Linked DNA regions of Homo sapiens: all the other regions are linked to region 1. Evidence: promoter capture Hi-C in 16 types of primary human blood cells and fetal thymus (Javierre and others, 2016). All regions are on one chromosome and are shown on one strand. Each heading gives the region's core, a stretch centred on a gene start or on the middle of the fragment in contact. The rest is flanking DNA. Distances are from core to core; before and after follow the strand shown. Region 1 holds the start of ALDH7A1 (aldehyde dehydrogenase 7 family member A1). Region 2 holds the start of LOC124901056 (a long non-coding RNA gene). Region 3 overlaps LMNB1 (lamin B1).

The links. Contacts are between HindIII fragments. The CHiCAGO score rates a contact against its expected background, and 5 or more counts as called.
Region 2: a fragment that was not itself captured here is called in contact with the fragment with the promoter of ALDH7A1 in region 1 in 3 of 17 cell types (naive CD4 T cells, naive CD8 T cells and activated CD4 T cells); the score reaches 6.5 in naive CD4 T cells.
Region 3: a contact is called between a fragment that was not itself captured here and the fragment with the promoter of ALDH7A1 in region 1, in 2 of 17 cell types (fetal thymus and total CD8 T cells). The highest score is 6.5, in fetal thymus.

Annotation. Positions count from the first base shown.
Region 1 is chr5:126,592,524-126,597,090 of GRCh38, reverse strand. It overlaps ALDH7A1 (aldehyde dehydrogenase 7 family member A1), which reads left to right and starts at 1,872. Exons shown (of 18, transcript NM_001182.5): 1 at 1,872-2,084; 2 at 3,687-3,740; 3 at 4,362-4,427. The coding sequence starts at 1,893. The HindIII fragment of the contact is 2,913 bases long and covers 1-2,833 here.
Region 2 is chr5:126,366,016-126,370,582 of GRCh38, reverse strand. LOC124901056 (a long non-coding RNA gene) reads left to right here and starts at 285. Exons shown (of 9, transcript XR_007058919.1): 1 at 285-1,903. It also overlaps a transcript of GRAMD2B not described here. RefSeq lists enhancers at 1,692-2,432, 2,433-3,174. The HindIII fragment of the contact is 697 bases long and covers 902-1,598 here.
Region 3 is chr5:126,779,052-126,783,618 of GRCh38, reverse strand. All of the region lies in intron 1 of LMNB1 (lamin B1), which reads right to left. Among named protein-coding and RNA genes, the nearest start is that of LMNB1, 4.2 kb to the right of the region's middle. RefSeq lists enhancers at 3,344-3,433, 3,444-3,513. The HindIII fragment of the contact is 2,673 bases long and covers 1,591-4,263 here.

The DNA.
Region 1 (4,567 bases), core at 623-3,122:
GATCCCTTGAGCCGAGGAGGTGCGGACCAGCCTGGGCAACATGGGGGAACCCTGTCTCTACAAAAAATCCTCAAAAATTAGCTGGGTGTGATGGCATGCCTGTAGTCCCAGCTACTTGGGAGGTTGAGGTAGGAGGATCACTAGAGCCTCGGAGGTCGAGGCTTCAGTAAGCCATGATCCTGCCACTGCACTCTAGCGTGGGCAAGCATATTTTAAACTCATGTTCAAATAATGATGATTGAGATATTAGTATTTCCGTTTTACAGGGTAGGCCCAGTTGTTGTGAAATGAGATGGGGCATGCATGAATGGAAAGGATATTGTAGGAAGACAGAAATGGAGAATGAAAGAAATTGATCAAAACTGTCTTTATTCTTTAAGAGTAAGAGCTGGGCGTGGTGGCTCACACCTGTAATCCCAGCACTTTGGGAGGCTGAGGTGGGCGGATCACGAGGTCAGGAATTCGAGACCAGTCTGGCCAACATAGTGAAACCCCTTCTCTACTCAAAATACAAAAAATTGGCCAAGCGTGGTGGTGGGCGCCTGTAATCCCAGCTACGCAGGAGGCTGAGGCAAGGAGAATCGCGTGAACCCGGGAGGCGGAGGTTGCAGTGAGCCGAGATTGCGCCACTGGACTCCAGCCCTGGCAACAGTGCGAGACTACGTCTCAAAAAAAAAAAAAAAATGTAAGAATAGGCCGGACACAGTGGCTCACGCCTGTAATCCCAGCACTTTGGGAGGCAGAGGCGGGCAGATCACGAGGTCAGGAGTTCGAGAGCAGCCTGGCCAACAGGGAGAAACCCCGTCTCTACTAAAAATACAAAAATTAGCTGGTGTGGTGGTGTGCACCTGTAATCCCAGCTACTGGGGAGGCTGAGGCAGGAGAATCACTTGAACCTGGGAGGTTGAAGTTGCAGTGAGTGGAGATCGTGCCATTGCACTCCAGCCTGGGCGATAGGGCGAGACTCCATCTTAAAAAAAAAAAAGTAAGAGGCCGGGCGCAGTGGCTCATGTCTCTAATCCCAGCACTTTCGGAGGCTGAGGCGGGCAGATCATCTCAGGTCAGGAGTTCCAGACCAGCCTGACTAACATGGTGAAACCCCGTTTGTCCTAAAAATACAAAAAATTAGCCGGGTGTGGTGGTGCACACCTGTAATCCCAGCTACTCAGGAGGCTGAGGCAAGAGAATCCGCTTGAACCCGGTAGGCGGAGGTTGCAGTGAGCCGAGATCGCGCCGTTGCACTCTAGCTTGGGCAAGAAGAGCGAAACTCCGTTTCCAAAAAAAAAAAAAAAAAAAAAAAGTAAGAATATACCCAGGCAGGATATTTATAGAGGAAATGCAGCAATCTAATATTTATCATTAATTAGAAAACTTTAATTTGTAATCTACCAAAACAGTGAAAACAACCAACCCTTCCCCCGCCCCCCAATACAAACCCTCCGTTGCCTACTCCAGGGACAAGAGGCGTCACCATCGCTGAGGAGCTGGTTAGGAATGTCGGCTCTCCGACCCTAGCCCAGACTTACTGAATCAGAATGTGCATTTACCACGACGACCAGGTCATTACACGCATTTTACAGTTTCAGAACCCCTGCTATAGCCTACTGTACTTCAGCGCCAATATTTTGCTGAAAAGAATTCCCAGCTGGAACTGTGGCTCCCGGAGTCTTTCACCAGATGGCAGCAGCCCACTCCTCCCTGTAGCACTCCCATTGTTCCAGGCAGGATTCAGCCGCAGGCTCCTCCGGAAGACCAGGGGCAGACGGGGCGGTGGCGGGGTCGTGCCCAGTGGGAGGGGTCGGGTCTGCCCAATGGGTTCTCCCGGGCGGGGGGCGGGGCTCTATTTCAGCAGCTCTCAGGGCCTTGGGCTCATCCCGAGTCCCGGGCTCAGTATGTGGCGCCTTCCTCGCGCGCTGTGTGTGCACGCTGCAAAGACCAGCAAGCTCTCTGGACCTTGGAGCAGGCCTGCCGCCTTCATGTCCACTCTCCTCATCAATCAGCCCCAGTATGCGTGGCTGAAAGAGCTGGGGCTCCGCGAGGAAAACGAGGGCGTGTATAATGGAAGCTGGGGAGGCCGGGGAGAGGTACGCGGGCGCTCAAGAAATCTCTGCAGCCGCCGGGGCTCGCTCGAGGAGGCCGGGCGGGCACTGACCTACCGACTCCCCGCTGGCGCTGGATGCGGTAGTAGCATGGGAGATTTTGAAGCTCCACAGTAAAAGTTTTCTCGTGTAGGGTGCCTTTAAAACAAAAACTTAGATTTTAGGTCCTTGTGTGCTATGCAGAATCGACGTCATTTTGGAGCTGTAGGGGCTAAACTTCCCGCGCATATTTAAAACATTATGGTCTACCGGGCGCGGTGGCTCACCCCTGTAATCCCAGCACTTTGGGAGGCCTAGGCGGGCGGATCACCTGAGGTAGCGAGTTCAAGACCAGCCTGACCGACATGGAGAAACCTTGTCTCTACTAAAAAAAATACAAAATAGCCGGGCGTGGTGGCGCATGCCTGTAATCCCAGCTACTAGGGAGGCTGAGGCAGGAGAATCGCTTGAACCCGGGAGGTGGAGGTCGTAGTGAGCCGAGATCGTGCCATTGCACTCCAGCCTGAGCAACAAGAGCGAAATTCCGTCTCAAAAAAAAAAAAAAAAAAAAAAATTAAAACCTTATGGTCTTGGGATCTATGGTCTTGTGAGAAATGTGGCACACTGAGCGGTGCAACTGATCTTAATTTAGAGCTTAACTCTGGCTCTTCAGCTGTGACGTGCACCGCAGGTAACGTTCTTCAGTGTAGTTTTAAGTTATCTTCCTTCCTGAATTCTTTGGGAGTTTGCAAGCTTGGACGTGCCGAAATCTTGCCATGTTGTACGTTGGGCTGTGAACTCCTTTGAGGACTGGATTTTCAGCATTTCTCCATTGCCCAGGGCTTAACACCGCGCCTGATACCCATTACTGCTCAAAACAATGTTTTATAGAATACAATGGAAAGGTAAGGTTATTATCGCCCAGATTTTTTTTTAAAAGAAAGTTTTTTATAGGAGGATGTTATGTAACAGTTAACAAACTTTGTTGGACGTTGTATATTATATAATGAACCTGCCTTGGTAGAGGGAACACGTCTTTTGGTAATCAGTGGCTGTAGGAGATACAGATAATTTTAATTGCTCCTCAGACCTCGGTGTTTCATCCTGATTTCCGTGTGGTATCTGATCATTAGGCTCTTGGAGGCCTTTTTAGCTGTGCCTTGATTTTCCCTTTCATTGTTGACCTGAGACCTCTCCAGTTGGTGTGGACACGGGACTTTCCAACAGTTTTCCTGCCTTGGCCATTTCATCTCTGAGCAGAGGGTGGGCAGAGTAAGGAAGAGAAGAAATAACTAAAACTAGTCAGTTTGGTCTGTTATTAATGGAAAAAGAGACAAAATAACTGCTTATGTTAAGGCTTTTGTTTATATGCCTAATATTGAGATGTCAGAGGCGAGTTTTGCAGAAAGGTAGTTTCTAATGTTTAAGTCAGAAATGAAAGACAACCTCTGTAGAGTGGTTTATATGTAACAGAAGTTAACCTAAGCTTTTTGAGTTTGGGTATTATATCATTTTTTCCTCTCTTGTTTTTCTTCCCCGTTTGGTCTATTCCCTTACTTCAAAAGGGATTACGTTTTCTATACATGATCATCATCCTTTTGTTTTAAGGTTATTACGACCTATTGCCCTGCTAACAACGAGCCAATAGCAAGAGTCCGACAGGTAAGAGTGTGTGTGTGTGTGTGTGTGTGTGTGTGTGTGTGTTTAATTCAAATTATACACAAGGAGTTTGTGCAGGCTTTCTTTAGAGGCAGAAGCCAGTTAGGCAGGTCAAGAATAATATAAAATCACAAATGAAGAGAATAATGTGTTTATTTTTCATTTGTCATTTAGGACTGTCTGGGGGAGACTGTCCTCTCTTGGGTGGGGGCGTGAAAAGGAAAGAACCATAGAAAAGGTGAAGCGTAGAAAGATTAGGCAGGGGGCCATTTAAGGCAGTGCTTCTGAAGTACCTGAGGATTTTGTTAGAATGAAGCTTCTGATTTCCGAAGTCTGGGTTGGAGCTCAAGGTTCTGCATTTCTAATATGCCTTACATGTTCCCAGATGAAGCTGACAGATTTTGCTTTGAAAAGCAAGGTTTTAAAGCATAGTTGGATACCAACCTGTTTTACCGGGTTCTAGCTAGTTTTTGGAAGTATAGACTGTGGGAATCATTCTCAGCCATAAATGTTAGGGAACCCTAGAGATTTCCCAACTCTTTTCTGAAAATATTTTTGTGTTCTAGAAGATCATCATCATTTCTCTTTATTTCCCCCTTTCTGTCCCCCTAATTCTTAATTTAGGCCAGTGTGGCAGACTATGAAGAAACTGTAAAGAAAGCAAGAGAAGCATGGAAAATCTGGGCAGATGTAAGTATGGCCTTTGTTTCTAGAATTCAGAAAAGATCACTTTGCCTATTGTAACCAATGAGATACATAAACATCTGATAAGCAGGTCAGTGCCGCCTTGTTAAAATGTGAGCTCCTTGGGGGCTGTGATACTGTACTAG
Region 2 (4,567 bases), core at 1-2,500, 230 kb after region 1:
TTTACTAACAAATAAGTTCAGAAAATGAGTTTCTTCATGCGACAAATGTTCATGCACAAGGAAAACATCAGTGTCCCTCCACCCTCGTTACTAGCACCAGTGAAAGATTTGTTCCACAGTAGCTATGCTCTCTCTCCTTGTTCCCCTTGTGATTAGTCAGTGACATTGCAGAATGGCTGGCTTAAGAGAAGTACACAGTTTCTGATTGTGGAAGAGAGCAAAGTTTCCTGGGAAATCAAAGCAAACCTTTAGCCTTGGCCTCATTAGCATTTTGCTCTAACCAACTGCTAACCTGGCAGGGACAGGTCTGTGCTGCTCTACATGCTGTATTGACCCTAAGAACACTTTTGAAGTGAGTCTTTCAGTGATATTACATTATTTTGGACAATATTTTCCTGCTGAGTTTTCTTGGTTTTAGCACTGAATGCCCTAAATTCCAGGAAATCTTTAGTGCTGGGCAAACTGGGGCAGGTGGTCACCTTAGTACTGCTGAGCGCCCTCATGCTACAGTTCTGAAGGTGCACCGCCCCCAGCTTTCCTCCCTGTCCTTCCTTGACAGAGCACGGTCTATATTTCTCTTTCCTCTCTTATCTCTGTGCTGAAATTGAGTTGAAATGTTGGAGACATTAAATAAGCTGTTATATTAAATTGCTGAATTAAACCAGTCACCATGCCTCATACAATAGCAACAACCTGCATGGGAGTTTCTGCTCCTTGTAAACAAAAGACAACTCTTACTGGCACAGATGTTAATGGTCAGTGAAATGTAGTCTGTTACTCTCTGTCTCATGCAGGTTTGGATTAAACAGGGGCAATTCCTAACTTAGAACAAAATGTCTCTAAAGGAGGAAATTCCAGTGTCAGTGAACAGTCTTTGAACTTATTTTTCAATAGATAAGCTTTCCTCGTACTCACTCAATCAACTGATATATATTTATTAGCAAAGCTCTTTGCTAGCTGCAGCGAGTGATATAAAAAGTTTTAAAAAATGGGTCCTTGCTTCAACAATGAAGCTAGGAAAAAACAGTCTACATAACTGAAAAGTTAACTAAAAATAAAAGCGATAGAAAGGCAGTGAATTAGGCTAATATTTATTGACTCTCTGTACTAGCTAATATCTTTTGAGTCAATATAGCATCTCTACTAGATAATTTCGTATATAACATCTCATTTAATCGTTGCCCAAATTACATTTTTATAGATTAAAAAAACTATATCTTTAAAAGGTTAAACCACTTGGCCATAATTAAATAGTAAGCATGTGGTCATGCTGGAATTCATTCATTCATTCATTCATTCATTCATTCATTCAACAAGTATTTATTGAGCATTTACAGTTAAAAGGAGGCAAATCAATTGAGACTGGTATGACTTATAAAAGTCTAATGGAAAATGTGGGGTTTGAGTTTCAATGTGGGGTCATGGGGAAGGCAGAAAGGGAAAGGAGTAGTGCTCATGAACAAATAAATGGGCATGGACCAGGTATGTGTGTGAGAGTGGAGAGTGGAGAGTTTGTTGGTGAAGTAGAGGAATAGTGAACATTTATCTGGAGGCTGAATTATGAAGGAACCTTGATGCCAGTGTGGTTAGTTCAAGCTTTATCCTGTAGGTAATGGAAATAAAATGATGAAAGATGAGCTCGATGGCCATATGCACGATGCTTTGGAAGCAGAATGAGATGAGTTGGTCCCATTACTCCAGTCAGCCGGGTGTTACGGTTATTTCAGTTACGCAGCAATTTACTAGCCTATGGGAAGCATACTGACGTAGTTAAACAGTATTGGCTGAACTCTTATGTAAGATGTTGAGTTAATCCTTATTATAAGAAATTGTGTCAAAGGTGAGATTTTCTGAAAGTCTAGAGCAGGGGTCACAAACTCAAAGGCCTTTAGGAACCGGAAAGGTAAGTAAAACCCTGGGGGAGGGACAGAAGCCAGCAGAGAGTGGTAAACAAAGGAATGCTTTTGCCTCCCTCAGGGCATTCAAGTTTTAACACAACAGATTCTGGTGGGAGGAGGCATCCTAAACCTGTCTGAGGGCTGGAGCCAGCTGGGGCTTGCCCGGTGAATTTCACTTCTTGATATGAGCTGCCTGTGATAAAGCTGACAAAATGTGCAAGTAGTTATAGCTGGACTTTATGTTTAAATAGGAATAAGGTTTTGATAGTACATGATCATTGAAAGAAAATGTGAATTCTGACAGCTTTATTTTCAAGATTAATGGCAGTTGACTGCTGTGCAGCCATCCACAGCCACTGCCTGAGCCCTTTGACTGTTTAGACATGGCCTCTGCCCAAGCCCTCCTAGCCTGTGCCACAGCTTTCATTTGTGTGTGTGCAAATTAAAACAAAGACCAGGTGGTCAAAGATAAACAACTGGAATAGGACGTTTATGTAAATATAACTATAAAAGGAACATGCACAGTGGCCAAAATGAATAATATATAATAAATAAAATACAACTAAAATAAAAATCACAGAGACTCTTTTATATCCTTCCATGGGAATTGAGAAATAATGTTGAAAGTCTTCTCGGCCGGGCGCGGTGGCTCACGCCTGTAATCCCAGCACTTTGGGAGGCCGACGCGGGCAGATCACGAGGTCAGGAGATCGAAACCATCTTGGCTAACACGGTGAAACCCCGTCTCTACTAAAAATACAAACAATTAGCCGGGCGTGGTGGCGGGAGCCTGTAGTCCCAGCTACTCAGGAGGCTGAGGCAGGAGAATGGCGTGAACCGGGAAGGTGGAGCTCGCAGTGAGCCGAGATGGCGCCACTGCAGTCCAGCCTGGGCGACAGAGTGAGAATCCAAATCAAAAAAAGAAAAGAAAAGAAAAGAAAATCTTCTGAAGCTCTAGTTTTCTTTGCTTAAGCCCTACAAATTAAAGTTTGGCCATAAGAGTTTTTTCTTTCTTCAATGAAACAAGGTCCATAATTCAAAGAATGTAGTCTTGTGCAATGATGATAATAATCTTTGGTTATTATATCCGAGCATTCTGGATTCCATAAATAAGAAACTAATATGCCTACTGATGCTAGGCTCGATGGATGGGAGGTGCGGAATTCATGCCTGTATATTCCCCTTTTCCTCCTCTCCCTCCTTTTCCTCTACTTCCTCCTCCTCCTCCTCCTCCTCCTCCTCCTCCTCCTCCAGTTTTTACAGGTGTAGGATTTGGATATTGAGACATAAGATCAAACCAGAACCACCAGATTAACAGAGCTTCAAAATGGAGTTTTCCAGAGCCATGGAATATAAATTTACACTTAGAAATAAACGAGATTTTCTCTACAAATAAGCGAAGTTAGAAATATTTGTGCCTTAAGATTTATTTGATAAATTATGCTGTGTTTAGGCTATTATTAATACAATTAGCTTGTATACTCTAAGCACATAGTACTGTGATTTGGATAAAAAAAGCCTTGGTCTGGGCCGGGTGTGGTGCCTCACGCCTGTAATCCCAGCACTTTGTGAGGCCGAAGTGGGTGGATCACCTGAGATAAAGAGTTCGAGACCAGCCTGGCCAACATGGTGAAACCACCGTCTCTACTAAAAATACAAAAATTAGCCAGGTGTGGTGGTGCGTGGCCTGTAATCCCAGCTACTCTGGAGGCTGAGGCACAAGAATCGCTTGGATCCGGAAGGCGGAGGTTTTTGTGAGCCGAGATCGCGCCACTGCACTCCAGCTTGGGTAACAGAGCGAGACTCCATCTCAAAAAGAAAAAAAAAAAAAAAAAAAAGCCTTGGTCTGGTAAAATCACCTTGAATTTCAGTTGTCACCATATTTCCATACATGGAATAACCATGTATGGAAAACCGGTGTGTGGGTGTAAATTAAATATATCCACATTCCTGTGGTTGGCTGTTTGATTTCATGGTTTAGAGTGTTAGTTTAGGGGTCAGGTTGCCTGGAAAAGGGTGGCTTGATTATTTCATTGCTTTGTTACTTTAGAAAGGGATTTAACTACTCTGAGCTTTTGTAAAAATGGGAATAACAATAATATCTATCTCAAAAAATTGTTTGGAGGACTTGATATAATATGTGTAAACTTCAAGTATGAAGCCTGTACATAGTAAGCATTCAGAAAATACTACTGATGGTAATGACAATGAAGATTAGGATCTTTGAGTTGGTCATACTTTCACTCATGTTGAGTGGAGTCATATGATATAAGTGAAAGATATGATTTGCTTTACTCAATGGGACAACAGCTGTGTGTTTGCACGTGGTTTGTGGAAGACCTAATCCTAGAGGGAGGGCAAGCATTGACAGTCTAGGCCCATGGAGTGTTGACACTGGTGATAATGACCTTGCCAAGCAGCTTGGAATATTCCAGTCTAATTCATGGGCTAAAGCATATCTTAAGTCCCTTCCTCTCTCCTTCAAACTTCTTTATTCTACGGTTTTTATGATAAAGAGGGGAGGGGGTTGATTTCTCTCCCAAAGTTGTGAACCCTTTGAGAGGATGCAGAGAAAGGATATATGTTATCCCCTTGTCAGAGAACTATTACTATCTGCCACAGCTCATGACTTTAGAGGGAGTTTGCCCCCAGAAGATTAGAAAGTTGAT
Region 3 (4,567 bases), core at 1,678-4,177, 190 kb before region 1:
AACAACTCCAAAAGATCTTGCTTTATCAAACATCTTTTGAAAGCATGGGAAGGAAATGTCATGACAGTTTAATTACTTGGGACCTGCTTCCTAGACTTTTAAATCATTTTTAGGGGTTTGGTCCTTCCAAGTCTTCCCTTGAAAATTAAAGTAACATTTAACATAACTCTGTTATAAAAGAACTATGAAAAGCAGTTTAACTAGTTTTATAACTCTTATAAAGAAAACTAGTTTTATAACTCTTATATTTTAAGTTATAAAAATATAAAAGTTTGATAACTCTTATATTAAGGCCAAGATGTATACTGTCAATCTGCTTCAAATAGGGCAAAATCAGTACATTAAAAAAAGATATAGTAATACACAGGATGATGAAGGTTTGTTTTTTGTGGTTTTTTTGTTTGTTTGTTTTTGTTTTTGAGACAGAGTCTCGCTCTGTCGCCCAAGCTGGAGTGCAGTGGTACGATCTTGGCTCACTACAACCTCCACCTGCTGGGTTCAAGAGATTCTCCTGCCTCAGCCTCCCAAAGTAGCTGGGATTACAGGCGTGCACCACCACGCCCGGCTGATTTTTGTATTTTTATGGAGATGGGGTTTCACAGTGTTGGTCAGGCTGGTCTCGAACTCCTGACCTCATGACCCTCCCACCTCAGCCTCCCAAAGTGCTAGGATTACAGGCGTGAGCCACCACGCCCAGCCAAAGGTTTTTGTTTTTCAATTAATCATCCTATGTACAAAGAAAACACTCCTAAAGAAGATTAGCATGTTTTTGACCAGGCACAGTGGCTCACGCCTGTAATCCCAGCACTTTGGGAGGCAGAGGCGGGCAGATCACGAGGTCAAGAGATCAAGACCATCCTGGCCAACATGGTGAAACCTGGTCTCTACTAAAAATATAAAAATTACCTGGGCGTGGTGGCGGGTGCCTGTAATCCCAGCTACTTGGGAGGCTGAGGCAGAAGAATTGCTTGAACCCAGGAGGCAGAGGTTGCAGTGAGCTGAGATTGTGTCACTGCACTCCAGCCTGGGCAAAAGAGCGAGACTCTGTGTCAAAAAATAAATAAATAAAAACAAAAATTCACCATCTTTTATCTATACTTCCAGAGTTTGAAAACCTAAAATTTTTATTAACACATTTAGTGGCAAAACCTGACCTGAAACCAGGTCTATTTTCAATCTGTCTTTCTCCACTTGCCATGACAATATCTTTCCCTCAGAAATGTTTCATGATAGAGTGCTAACTCTATCTACCCTAACTCTATCTATAAACCCCACTGGGGGTGTCATATCCAGTATGTGCATCATATTACCGTCTTAAATTGGAATTGCTTTAACTTCCAAAGCACATCTGGCCCCCAGGGTTTTACAGAAAAGATACGGGACCTGTATCACTGAAGGAAAATAAATGTCTGAATCCACAAAATCAGTTATTGAAGACTGATGTAAACACTTAACTTTCTGTTATATCTAGTTTTCCCGTATAGTTAACAGTGAAAATCTGAAACAAGTCAATTTCTCTGTACTTTTTGTTTAAAGTGTTGAGTGATGGCATTCATCATCATTTTTGGAAACTGTTCTCTCAAAAAAGCTTTCAGCAAAATATAATCAGTCTTGGACTGAATCAAAGTAACTGTACCTTACATATGAGGTCTGTTTTCTATGGATTCAGACACCACCTGCATGGAAACTGTTGCCAAATTCTCTTTAGACCAAGCATTTCCATGCTCTGCCTCTAAGGTATCTTGTTTGCTGAGGAACCAAAAAGAAACTAAGTAACCTGGAATCTATAATTCTCTCAAAGCTGTTTTCTTAATCTAAATCTACCTAAATGATGATTATACTTAATTACAAACACTCTAGTTCCAAATAAAAAATTAAATATAGGCCAGGCATGGTGGCTCACGCCTATAATCCCAGCACCTTGGGAGGCCGAGGTGGGTGGATCACCTGAGGTCAGGAGTTGGAGACCAGCCTGGCCAACACGGTGAAACCCCGTCTCTACTAAAAATACAAAATTAGCCGGGTGTGGTGGTGCACACCTGTAATCCCAGCTACTTGGGAGGCTGGGTCAAGAGCATCGCTTGAACCTGGGAGGCGGAGGTTGCAGTGAGCCAAGCTCCGTCTCAAAAAAAAAAGAAAGACATTAACAACCCTAGATGCCAGAAGACAATAGGGCAAAATAATACTTTCCAAGTTCTGGAAAAATGTTAACCTAGTATTCTATACCTAGCCCAAAGCTATTTTCAGACATACAGGACTCAGAAAGTTTACCTCCTGCCATCCTTTCTGAATAAATTACTTAAGGATGTTCTTCAACAAAATATGAAGAAACCAAGGAAAAGGAAAATACACCCAGGATGGAGTGCGGTGGTGTGATCTCAGCTCACTGCAACCTCCGCCTCCCCGGTTCAAGCAATGCCTCCTGCCTCAGCCTCCACAGTAACTGGGATTGCAGGCGTCCACTACCACACGCGGCTAATTTGTGTATTTTTAGTAGAGACGGGGTCTCGCCATGTTGGACAGGCTAGTCTTGAACTCCTGACTTCAGGTGATCCACCTGCCTAGGCCTCTCAAAGTGCTTTACAGGTGTGAGCCACCGTGCCTGGCCAGGAAGCTGTCTTTAATAAGTTACAGGACATCAGTACACAGCCTACCTTAAGCAAAGAGAACTCTAGGGAAGAAAGCAGATTCATGTGATAGATATTATGATTAAATATCTTCAAAAAGTCTGCAAACACACTGAGGGCAAATTTTTCTTAACAAGAAAAATGAAAAGCTATTGAGGAATAAATCCATATAAAAAAAGTCCTAATTCAAATAAGGAGCAAACTAAAATGTGGCATGTTTTGAGCAAATGATGGTATGTTGGGGGGAAAAGAAGAGTCATCTAATCCTGGCAATAGGAATATACATACAGTAGCACAGACTTAAGAAAAATATAATCCCAGAACACTACTAACCCTCAGAGAATAGGTACTGTCAACTCCTCAGACAGGCCTTCCTTAATCACACTAACCCTTCACTCCGCTTTATTTTTATTCCCTTAGCATCTGCTATTACCTAAATTGTATCACATGCATTATTTCATTGATTCTAATACACATTATTCTCATTTTTTAACCCCGCTGAAACCAGCATGCATTTTAGAATCGATACATTTACAACTACTGTCAGCCAGGTGGCAGCCTTGTTACTGTGTGAAAAACCTCCTGTGGCTAACTCCTGGAAAGATTACAAAAGCGCCAGCATCAAAATGCTTCACATCAGACAAAAGACAATCTTTCTTTACTTGCTGGGATATAGCTCCCCCACTACACTCTCAGCAACAAAGAACAGTAATTCATTTTTTTAAAAAAATCTTCATATCCTCTAACATAGAACGGTGACTGGTACGCAACAGATATTTGATCTGTGTTAATTTTTTTTTTTAGACGGAGTCTCACTCTGTCACCCAGGCTGGAGTGCAGTGGACCATCTGGCTCACTGCAGCCTCTGCCTCCTGGATATCAAGCGATTCTCCTGCCTCAGCCTCCCCAGTAGCTGGGATTACAGACGCCCGCCACCACGCCCGGATTTTTTTTCTTTTTTGAGATGGGGTCTCACTCTGTCGCCAGGCTGGGGTGCAATGGCGCAATCTCAGCTCACTGCAATATCCGCCTCCTGGGTTCAAGCGATTCTCCTGCCTCAGCCTCCCAAGTAGCTGAGACTACAGATGCATGCCACCACGTCTGGATAATTTTTTGTATTTTTAGTAGAGACGGGGTTTCACCTTGTTAGCCAGGATGGCCTCGATCTCCTGACCTCGTGATCCGCCCGCCTCGGCCTCCCAAAGTGCTGGGATTACAGGCGTGAGCCCCCGCGTCCGGCCAATTTTTGTATTTTTAGTAGAGACGGGGTTTCACCATATTGGTCAGGCTGGTCTCGAACTCCTGACCTCAAGTGATCCGCTCACCTCGCCTCCCAAAGCGCTGGGATTACAGGCGTGAGCCACCACGCCCGGCCCTGTTTGACATTTTAATATCTATGAAACCCATCATGATGGGTCCAACAGGATGGATCCTACACAGTTGGTCCTGATGTTTTTATTTTCTTAGTGGTACACATAATAATGGCAAGTCTTACAAGCAACGATATCTAAGATTTGAAGGAATTCAGTGGCAAAAAATTTGGAGGAACATAGAAATAATAGTGTGAGTTAACTGACTGCTCATTTTAAAAGATGAAACCAAGGCTTAGTAAATCCAAGAAAGGGAAATACAAGCTTAGTATTATTTTCGAGTTGTATAACTAAATATCCAAAGAAATAAAAACAAAAAGGGATAAATGTGATTGCCTCCGGAAAGAGGTAGTGCAGTTATCGTTTTTCGCTACAAACCAGTCTATACTATTTTATTCTTACCACGTGCACATGCTTTTTTATGAACCGAAAACATATGATAGGAGGGATAAGTAAAAATACACAAAATCTCAGAGACTTCGGACAGGGACATTCACGCAGATACAGACAGAAAGACATCCAGGGGCAAAGGGTGTCAAAGTGAGAATAAGGTACCTCCAGAAATTTCAG